Regions from separate parts of the Homo sapiens genome. Here region 1 is linked to region 2. The links are contacts of gene promoters, found by promoter capture Hi-C in human tissues and cell types (Jung and others, 2019). All regions are on one chromosome and are shown on one strand. The core of a region is centred on a gene start or on the middle of the fragment in contact, and the rest is flanking DNA. Distances in the headings are between cores, read along the strand shown.

Evidence for each region. Contacts are between HindIII fragments. The study calls those that stand out against the background at their distance.
Region 1: a fragment that was not itself captured here is called in contact with the fragment with the promoter of LY6E in region 2 in 2 of the 25 tissues and cell types used here (liver and lymphoblastoid cells).

Annotation. Positions count from the first base shown.
Region 1 is chr8:142,888,689-142,893,745 of GRCh38, forward strand. No RefSeq gene overlaps it. Among named protein-coding and RNA genes, the nearest start is that of CYP11B1, 11 kb to the left of the region's middle. The HindIII fragment of the contact is 8,238 bases long and covers 1-5,057 here.
Region 2 is chr8:143,016,799-143,022,027 of GRCh38, forward strand. LY6E (lymphocyte antigen 6 family member E) reads left to right here and starts at 1,731. Exons shown (of 4, transcript NM_002346.3): 1 at 1,731-1,788; 2 at 4,085-4,193; 3 at 4,516-4,635; 4 at 4,768-5,229. The coding sequence starts at 4,142. The coding sequence ends at 4,991. LY6E-DT (LY6E divergent transcript) reads right to left here and starts at 1,592. Exons shown (of 2, transcript NR_026913.1): 1 at 1,362-1,592. The HindIII fragment of the contact is 17,617 bases long and covers 1-5,229 here.

The DNA.
Region 1 (5,057 bases), core at 1,579-4,078, 130 kb before region 2:
CCTGTGATGGGAGGGACTGCCACAAATGTCTCTGAAATGCCCTGAAGGCATTGTCTGCATTGTCTTGGTGATACGGTTTGGCTGTGTCCCTACCCAAATCTCATCTTGAACTGTAGTTCCCATAATCCCCATGTGTCATGGGAAGGACCCAGTGGGAGGTAATTGAATCATGGAGGCAGTTACCTCTGTGCTGTTCTTGTGATAGTGAGTGAGTGAGTTCCCACAAGATCTAATGGTTTTATAAGGGGCTCCCCACCCTCACCCTTCATGCTGCACTTCTCCTTGCTGCTACTATGTGAAGAGGGATGTGTTTGCTTCCCCTTCTGCCATGATTGTAAGTTTCTTGAAGCCTCCCCAGCCCTGCAGAACCGTGGATCAATTAAACCTCTTTTCTCTATAAATCGCCCGGTCTCAGGTATGTCCTTATAGCAGCATGAGAAAGGATAAATACACTTGGCTATTAACATTTGGCTCTCCTTTACTTATGCAAATTTCTGCAGCCTTGAATTCTTCCCTAGAAAATGGGTTTTTCTTTTCTACTGCATGGTCGAACTGCAAATTTTCCCAGCTTTCATACTCTCCTCTTTTAAATATAAGTTCAAATTTCAGATAATCTCTTTCTTCATACATATGAGAATACACTTTTAGAAACAGCCAGGTAACCTCTTCAATGCAGCTGCTTAGACATTTCTTCTGCCAGATGCCCTAAATTATTTCTCTCAAGTTCAAAGTTCCACAGATCTCTAGAGCAGGGGCATAATGTCACCAGTCTCTTTGCTAAAGTATAGCAAGAGTGACCTTTATGCCAGTTCCCAGTAAGTTCCTCATTTCCATCTAAGAACTCATCTGCCTGGCCATCTCTGTCCATATCACTATCAGCATTTTGGTCGAAGCCATTCAACAAGTCTCCAGGAGGTTCCAAACTTTCTCTCATCTGCCTGTCTTCTTCTGATTCCTCCAAATTGTTCCAACCTCTGCCTATTACCCAGTTCCAAAGTCACTTCCACCTTTCCAGTTATCTTTATAGCAATGCCCCATTTCTCTGGTACCAATTTTCTGTATTAGTCTGTTCTCACACTGCTATAAATAACTATCTGAGACTGGGTAATTTATAAAGAAAAGAGGTTTGGTTGACTCACAGTTCTGCAGGCTGTACAGGGAGCATAGCTGGAAGACCTCAGGAAACTTACAGTCATGGCAGATGATGAAGGGGAAGCAGGCACGTCTTAACATGACAGAGCAGGAGAGAGAGAGAGTGAAGGGGGAGGTGCTACATACTTTCAAACAACCAAATCTCATGAGAACTCTATCATGAGACAGCACAAGAGGGATGGTGCTTAACCATTAGAAACCACCCCTCCATGATCCAAGCATCTCCCACCAGGACCCTCCTCCAACACGTGGGAATTACAGTTCGACATGAGATTTGGGTGGGGACACACAGCCAAACCATCTCACAATTATACGCTTTTAGTGATTTTTAAATGTACAATTAAATTGTCATTGATTATAATCACCCTGTTGTGCTATCAAATAGTAGGTCTTATTCATTCTTTCTATATTTTAACCATTCTCACCTCACCTCCACTCCCTCACTACCATTCTTAGCCTCTGGTAACTATCCTACTCTGTATCCCCATGAGTTCAATTGTTTCAGTTTTTAGATCCCACAAATAAGTGAGAACATGCAATGCTTGTCTTTCTGTGCCTGGCTTATTTCAATTAATGTAATAATCTGCAGTTCCATCCTTGTTGGTGCAAATGACAGGATCAAATGCTTTTTCATGGCTGAATAGTACTCCATTGTGTATATTCACCACATTTCCTTTATCCTTTTATCTGTTGACGCACACTTAGATTGCTTCCAAATCTTGGCTGTTGTGAACAGTACTGCAATAAACATGCTAGTGCAGATCCCATATACCAATTTCCTTTCTTTTGGGTATATACCTAGCAATGAGATTGCTGGATTGTATGGTACCTCTATTTTTAGTTTTTTGAGGAACCCCCAAACTATTTTCTATAGTGGTTGCACTAATTTACATTCCTACCAACAGTGTAGAAGGGTTCCCTTTCTCCACTTCCTCGCTAGCATTTGTTATTGCCTGTCTTTTGGATACAAGCCATTGTAACTGGGGTGAGAAAATATCTCATGGTAGTTTTTATTTGCATTTCTCTGATGATAATGATGTTGAGCAGCTTTTCATATGCCTGTTTACTGTTTGTATGTCTTTTTTTAAGAAATGTCTATTCGAATATTTTGCCCATTTTTAAATTGGATTATTAGTTTTTTTTCCTACAGAGTTGTTTGAACTCCTTATATATTCTGATTATTACTCCTTTGTCAGATGGGTAGCTTGCAAATATTTTCTCCCATTCTGTGGGTTGTCGCTTCACCTTGGCAATTGTTTACTTTGCTGTGCAGAAGTTTTCTAACTTGATGTAATCCTATTTGTCCATTTTTGTTTTGGTTGTGTGTGTTTGTGGGTTATTATTCGGGAAATCTTTGCCCAGACCAATGTCCTGGAAAGTTTCTCCAATATTTTCTTATAGTAGTTTCATAGTATGAGGTTTTATGTTTATGACTTTAATCCATTTTGATTTGATTTTTGTATATGGTGAGAAACGGGTCTAATTTCATTCTTCTGCATATAGATATCCAGTTTTCTCAGCACCATTTATTGAAGAGACTGTCTTTTCCTTGGCACCTTTGTCAAAAATGAGTTCACTGTTGTGTATGGATTTTTTTCTTAGCTCTCTATTCTATTCCATTGATCTATGTGTCTGTTTTAATGCCAGTACCCTGCTGCTTTGCTTACTATACTTCTGTAGTATAATATGAAGTCAAGTAATGTGATTTCTCCAGTTTTGTTCCTTTGCTTAGGGTAACTTTGGCTATTCCGGGTCTTTTGTGGTTCCATATAGATTTTAGGATTGTTTTTCTATTTCTGTGAGGAATATCACTGGTATTTTGAGAGGGACTGCATTGAATCTGTAGATTGCTTTGGGTAGTATGGACATTTTAACCATATCAATCCTTCCAATCAACGAACATTTTGGTGTCTTCTTCAATTTCTTTCATCACTGTTTAATAGTCTTTCACTTCTTTAGTTAATCTCAGGTATTTAATTTTATTTGTGGTTATTGTAAATGGAATTACTTTTTATTTTTCAAATTGTTCACTGTTGGCATATGGAAATGCTACTGATTTTTGTAAGTTGATTTTGTATTCTGCAACTTTACTGAATTTGTTTATAAGTTCTAATAGTTTTTTTGTGGAGTCTTTATATTCTTCCAAATATAAGATTATATAATCTGCAAACAAGGATAATTTCACTGCTTCCTTTCTAATGTGGATGTTGTTTATATCTTTATCTTGTCTGACTCCTCTAGCTAGGACTTCCAGTACTATGTTGAATAACAGTGGTGATAGTGGGCATCCTTGTCATTCTCTAGATCTTGGAGGACAGGCTTTCAGTTTTCCCCCATTCAGTATGATACTAGCTGTGGGTCTGTAATATATGGCTTTTATTATGTTAAAGTATATTCCTTCTACACCCAGTTTTTTGAGGGTTTGTTTTTATCATAAAAGGATGTTGAATTTTATTAAATGTTTTTCAGCATCAATGGAAATGATTATACAGTTTTTGTCCTTCATTCTGTTGATGGGATGTATCACACTGATTGATTTGCATTTGTTGAACCATTCTTGCATCCCAGAGATAAATCTCACTTGGTCGTGATGAATGGTCTTTTTAACGTATTGTGGAATTCAATTTGATAGTATTTTGTTGAGGATTTTTGCATCAATATTTATCAGAGATATTGGCCTTTAATTTTTTTATGTGTCTTTGTCTGGTTTTGGTATCAGGGTAATACTGGTCTTGTAGAATGAGTTCAGAAGTATTCCTTCATCCTTTATTTTTCAGAATAGTTTCAGTAGGATTGGTATTAGTTCTTCTTTAAATGCTTGGTAGAATTCAGCGGTGAAGCTATTGAGTCCAGGGCTTCTCTTTACTTGGAGACATTTTATTATGGAGTAAATCTCATTACTTGCTATTTGTCTGTTCAGGTTTTTTATTTTTTCAAGGTTCAATCTTGGTAGGTTTTTGTGTCTTGAAATGTATCCATTTCTTCTAGATTTTCCAATTTATTGGCATGTAGTTGCTCATAGTAGCCACTAATTATCCTTTGAGTTTCTGCAGCATCAGTTTTAATATCTCTTTTTTCATTTCTGATTTTATTTATTTGAATCTTCTCTTTTTTTTTCTTAGTTAGTTGGGCTAAAGTTTTGTCAACTTTGTTTATCTTTTCAAAGAAAGACCCAACTTTTTGTTTCATTGATCTTTTGTATCACTTTCTTCATTTCAATTTCATTTATTTCTGTTCCTTAGGTTTTATTTGAAGTTTTTCTTCTTTTTTGAGATAGGCACTTACAGCTATAAAGTTCCCTCTTAGTACTGCTTTTGCTGTATCCCATAAATTTTGGTATGTTTTGTTTCCAGTATCATTTGTTTCAAGAAATTTTTCAATTTTCTTCTTAATTTTTTCATTGACCCAGTGGTCATTCAGGAGGATATTGTTTAACTTCCATATATTTGTATAGTTTCCAAAATTCTTCTTGTTAATTGATTTCTAGTTTTATTTCATTGTGGTCATAGAAGATGCTCAATATTATTTCAATTTTTTGAATGTTTTAAGATTTGTTTTTTGACCTAACCTACGGTCTATCCTTGAGAATGATCCATGTGCTGAGGAAAATAATGTGTATTCTGTAGCCGTTGGATAAAATATTCTGCAAATATCTACTAGGTCCATTTGGTTTATAGTTCAGATTAAGTCTGATGTTTCTTTGTTGACTTTCTGTCTGGAAGATCTGTCCGATAGTCAAAGTGAGGTATTGACGTCTCCACTTACTATTGTATTGGGGGTCTATCTCTCTCACCACAGTGGGGAATCTGCTAAGCTTCACCTGAAGCCAGCAAGTCTCAGATTCTCACCTAAAGCCCTTGATGAAGAACCTGGGTATAGCTGCTTATTATTCAAGGTCCAAGGTC
Region 2 (5,229 bases), core at 481-2,980:
TGCCTCCTACTCACTTCAAGATGGAGTCACTCTGGTCATGTTTCATTAAACCAGAGGCCTGGTGAGCAAGCGTTCCTCTAACAGTGGGAACCTCAACGTCGGGCCAGTCGGTAAGAAGTTCCAGAGGCTGGCCCTCGCAGCTCATGTGTGTGCATATGTGTGTGTGTGTGTGTGTGTGTGTGTGTGTGTAGGTGTCTGGATCTGACGCTATCTGCAGGTACCGGAATGGTGTTGGAGGACACTCGGCTGGTGTCCGCTGCAGAACTGATGGCTTGCTCGGTGGCGGGGAGACGTCCACCTGCCACATTTGGCCCCAGCAGTCTTGGGAGTCTCCTGTGTTGATGTCTTCTGTGTTGAGTGAGAGACAGGATAAATGGTTTGAGAGTTTTTTCCAAACAGCCCTCCTCCTAATGCAGCTTGTTTTCTGAATCAGAGGGTCCTGTCTTGAAGGGGGCAAACCCACCCGTGCTTTCGTCCCACAGTTCTTACTGAGCCCCTGCCATGGCAGGGATGGCCCCAGGTGCCGGCTGCAGAGACAGAACCCCCTGCCCTCACCGCCAACATTCCAGAGGGGAAGATGCCCTGCCTGTGCCCCACGTAAGACCCAGAGGCAGGGACTCCCCCGGGCCACAGCCTACTGGAGGCTCCTGTCCCCAGAGACAGCTGGGCCATCGCCCCCAAAGCTGTGGAAGCCCCACCCACGATGCCATCATACCACGGCCAGGACATCTCGTGACACACACAGCCCCAGCCTCAGCCTCCATACACACACACACACGCACCACACACACTCACTCATGCAAAACACACACACAGCCACATTGACTGCACCCCTAGATTTGAGACAGGGGTGTTACAGGTGTCTGTCAGCCCCAGCCCCCTCCTGACCACATGGCCACCTGCCCACCCTCACATTTCCGCACACCCTCCCCCTACTCCCGTGTGGGGTTCAGAAGACCCCTCCCTGGTGCTCGCCCTGTCACCCAGAAAGGAAACGCACTGTCAACTGGAGAACAGGCCGGTGGCAGAGCCCCAGCGCCCACAGCCCCTCGGAGAGGGCCTGGCGGGAGGAGAGGCACCCACCGATGGCAGAGCCTCAGTGCCCTCGCAGAAGCCAGCACCCACAACCTCCCACCTCCCAACCCTTGCCGGTCTCCCCACCCCCGCCTGAGGGATGGCCAAGGAACAGCCCAGCCTGGAGCGGGAAGCAGGGACAAGATGACCTCAGGAATCCCAGGCTGCGGGGGTGCCTGCGTCCTCCCCTCCCGAGCTCCACTCCGCAGGCGAGACCCCCAACACTGCTCCCCGACACTCTCCGAGGCACCCCTCCTCCGTGCTCACACCCAAACACGTCTGCTCACCCGTGGGCTTCCCACCCCGAACACAACGAGGACTGTCCAGGTGTCAGTGACGGTCACCCCGACCTGGTCCCCTGTCCGGCCTCGCCAGGTCAGCACCCGCCGCGCGCACAGCAGGGCCGGGTGGAAGGAGGCCGGGCCTGGCCGTGGCTCAGGCGCCACCTCACTGGGGAAACTGGGAGGTGGTCTCAGCCCCCTTCTGGGCCTCAGCTTCCCCATCTATCCCAAGGAGCCGGGGTAGGCCTGGGCGGCGCGGGGACCCCCACCGCGGGCTCGCCGACTCCGCCCGCCGGAGGCCCCTCCCGCGTCCCGCCCCTGCCCCCGCCCCGGGGCCGCGCGGCTGCCTGGGAGGCTCCGGGCCAGCCGCGGTCCAGAGCGCGCGAGGTTCGGGGAGCTCGGCCAGGCTGCTGGTACCTGCGTCCGCCCGGCGGTGAGTCCGCGGGCCCCCGGCCGGGACGCCCCCGCCACCTGCGCGCACGCGCTCAGACCCGGCGGCCTCGGCTGCGGTGCACGCGGCCCCGGCTCAGCCACGCGCGGCGGAAGGCGCCCTGCGGGGGCCGGGGCGGGAGAGGGTGGGAGAGAGCAAGAGGGGCGCACGGGGAGGCGCAGGAGAGGGGCTGGGGCTGCCGGTGGGTTGGTCCCCAGAGAGCTGAGCTTCTCCTCCCATCCCCCGCAGGCCTCCCCGAATGTTTCCAAAGATCTGGGGCGGGAGCGGGCGGAGACTGCCGCCAGGAGCCTCCCGGCCGCCCCAGGGCTGCGCAGCCACTGGAGCCCATCACCCAACTCCAGACGCTCCTGGCTCCTCTACGTGGGCCGGGAGGGACAGCCTTGAGGACTAGGGGAGGGGGCACGGGACCTTGCAGAGCTCCTGGCCGGAAAGGGAGGATTGACCGCCCCCGGCATATCACCCCGGAGCACTGGAACCCGCCCCCGCTTCTTGTTTTGGCACTGGTGGTGCTTGCGGTGAGGTCCAAGGAGCCCAGCCTCCCTGAGTGGACCGCCGGGCCCCTCCCCGTTCCGGGACACAGGAGAGGCTCCCGCCCCTTGCTGGCTGGGCAGCCCCTAGATACCTGGCTCCCAGGGGCCAGCTTCCCTGAGCCTGGGGATGAGCCATGAGCCTGCAGCCTGGGCCCCAGGGGCGCCCCCCACGGCCTGCCGGCTGGCTCCCTCCGGGCTCCATGGCCCACCCGGCCTTCCTAATTGCCTTCGGCTCCCACCGGTGCCTTAGCTCAGCCTGGTGGCCCAGCGGGTTGGGTGCCACCCAGTGAGCAGGTGGCGGCACCAGCTGGACCTGTTTGTGGCCCTGTATGCTAGGACTTCCTCAGAGACAGCTCAGGGACCCCCCCACACCAGAACCTCACTTTAGGGGGGTGGGGGGAAAAGGAATTGGAGATCCTTCCTCCTCGGGCTACTCCCTGGAGGCGGGGATAGGCCCCAGCCGGACTTGGCACTGTTTTTGGCCACCTGGGGCTCCCACTCCCAACCCCAGGATGTCAGCCCAGGTCTCACTGTCCTGGCCTGCTGCTCTCCCCTTAGGGCCTCTGCGGGCCCCTCTCCAGATCTGTTCTCTGAGGCATCCTCCTTACCCCCAGTGCCCAGCACTAGCTCCCCAGGCCCGGGATGTCCCTCCCACTCCTCTGCCCACGGCTGTCCCTGACAGAAGGCAGCAGCCTCCCCCTCCAACACCATGCACTCACAAAACAGAGAATCACGACCCCAGCTGGGTGTGTTCCAGATTCTTTCTCCAGCAGTGCAGAGGGTCCTGTGCAGAGGCCGAGGAGCAGTACAGCGACCCATCTGGCCCTTTCCTGCTGGTGGGACCAGTGGCACGCAGCCTTGTCTCTCGGAGCCCATTTCCCAGCCACAGAATGGGGAGTAGCAGATACTGAGTGGGGTGCTTTCCTCGGAACTGAGTAACATCAGGAATGGGGAGTGCTTTCCCCCTCAGCCATGCCCCACCTGGCCCCAGGTCTCCATGTGAGGGGAGCTGCCTGGGCTCAAAACACTGAGCCATCCCAAGGAAAATTCTAGATACAGATTAGCTAATATACACTGACAGATACACATATAGATGTGTATATAGATTTCTCTTTTTTTTGAGACAGGGTCTCACTCTGTTGCCCAGGCTGCAGTGCAGTGGCATGATCATAGTTCACTTCAGTCTTGAACTCCCTGGCTCAAGAGATCCTCCCACCTCAGCCTCCCAAGTAGCTGACCACAGGCACGTACCACGCCCGGCTAATTTTTGTATTTTTTGTAGAAACAGGAGGTCTCACTGTGTTGCCCAGGGTGGTCTCAAACCCCTGGCCTCATATGATCCTCCTGCCTTGGCCTCACATAGCATGGAGATTACAGGCGTGAGCCCCTGTACCCAGCCCCAGACTAGCTAATATTATGACTGATCACCATTCCCCATTCCCCATTCCCCCACCCCAGGACCACTGGCAGAGGCCACTCACTCTGCCTTCTTTTCTGTGGTTCTGAGAAGGCTGCTGAGTTTCCTCCTCTTGCCTGTGCAGCCCCCTCCTGCCAGGTTTCAGGAGGGAGATAGCCTAGAGCATGTCTGCACTGAGTGAGGAGTGGGTCAGGAGAGAAGCAGGGAAGTCCTTGTGTGCTGGCAGGTCCCTTCCCCTCTGCTGTCTGTGTCCTCATCTGCAAAGTGGGGGTGCATGGTCTTGGGGAGGAGTGAGGCACCACCCGGCCCCCTAACCAGTGTGTCTCTCCAGAGCAGGACAGGCTGCTTTGGTTTGTGACCTCCAGGCAGGACGGCCATCCTCTCCAGAATGAAGATCTTCTTGCCAGTGCTGCTGGCTGCCCTTCTGGGTGTGGAGCGAGGTGAGGTGCCCTTGGGGACCCCAGACCTTTGTCCAGCTGTGCCCTGCTCCACTCCCTCTCCACCCCTCTCCCCTGAGCAGACGCCCCAGGGGTCCTTCCAGGCCGCTCCCAGCAGAGGGCTCACCCGGCCTGGCCACACTGTCTCACTGTGTGTTTGAGTGTCGCTTGACCTGCTCGACGGCCAGGGTGGGGTGTCACTGTCTTTGCTCTGCCTTCAGCCCAGGGCCTGGTATACAGTAATTTCTCAGTAAATGTCCACTGGGGTCAGGCCTGGGAGGGACACTGGAGGCTTCCCTGAGACAGGTGTGTCCTCCTTCCGCAGCCAGCTCGCTGATGTGCTTCTCCTGCTTGAACCAGAAGAGCAATCTGTACTGCCTGAAGCCGACCATCTGCTCCGACCAGGACAACTACTGCGTGACTGTGTCTGCTAGTGCCGGCATTGGTGAGTGCCAGGCCTCAGACCGTGCCTTCCTCCCCTGGCCATCTCCCTAGCCCGGGCCGGGGCTCAGCAGAGGCCATTGCTGTCTGTCTGCAGCCGTCTGTCTCTCCCCTGACAGCCTCATTTCCCATGCAGGGAATCTCGTGACATTTGGCCACAGCCTGAGCAAGACCTGTTCCCCGGCCTGCCCCATCCCAGAAGGCGTCAATGTTGGTGTGGCTTCCATGGGCATCAGCTGCTGCCAGAGCTTTCTGTGCAATTTCAGTGCGGCCGATGGCGGGCTGCGGGCAAGCGTCACCCTGCTGGGTGCCGGGCTGCTGCTGAGCCTGCTGCCGGCCCTGCTGCGGTTTGGCCCCTGACCGCCCAGACCCTGTCCCCCGATCCCCCAGCTCAGGAAGGAAAGCCCAGCCCTTTCTGGATCCCACAGTGTATGGGAGCCCCTGACTCCTCACGTGCCTGATCTGTGCCCTTGGTCCCAGGTCAGGCCCACCCCCTGCACCTCCACCTGCCCCAGCCCCTGCCTCTGCCCCAAGTGGGGCCAGCTGCCCTCACTTCTGGGGTGGATGATGTGACCTTCCTTGGGGGACCGCGGAAGGG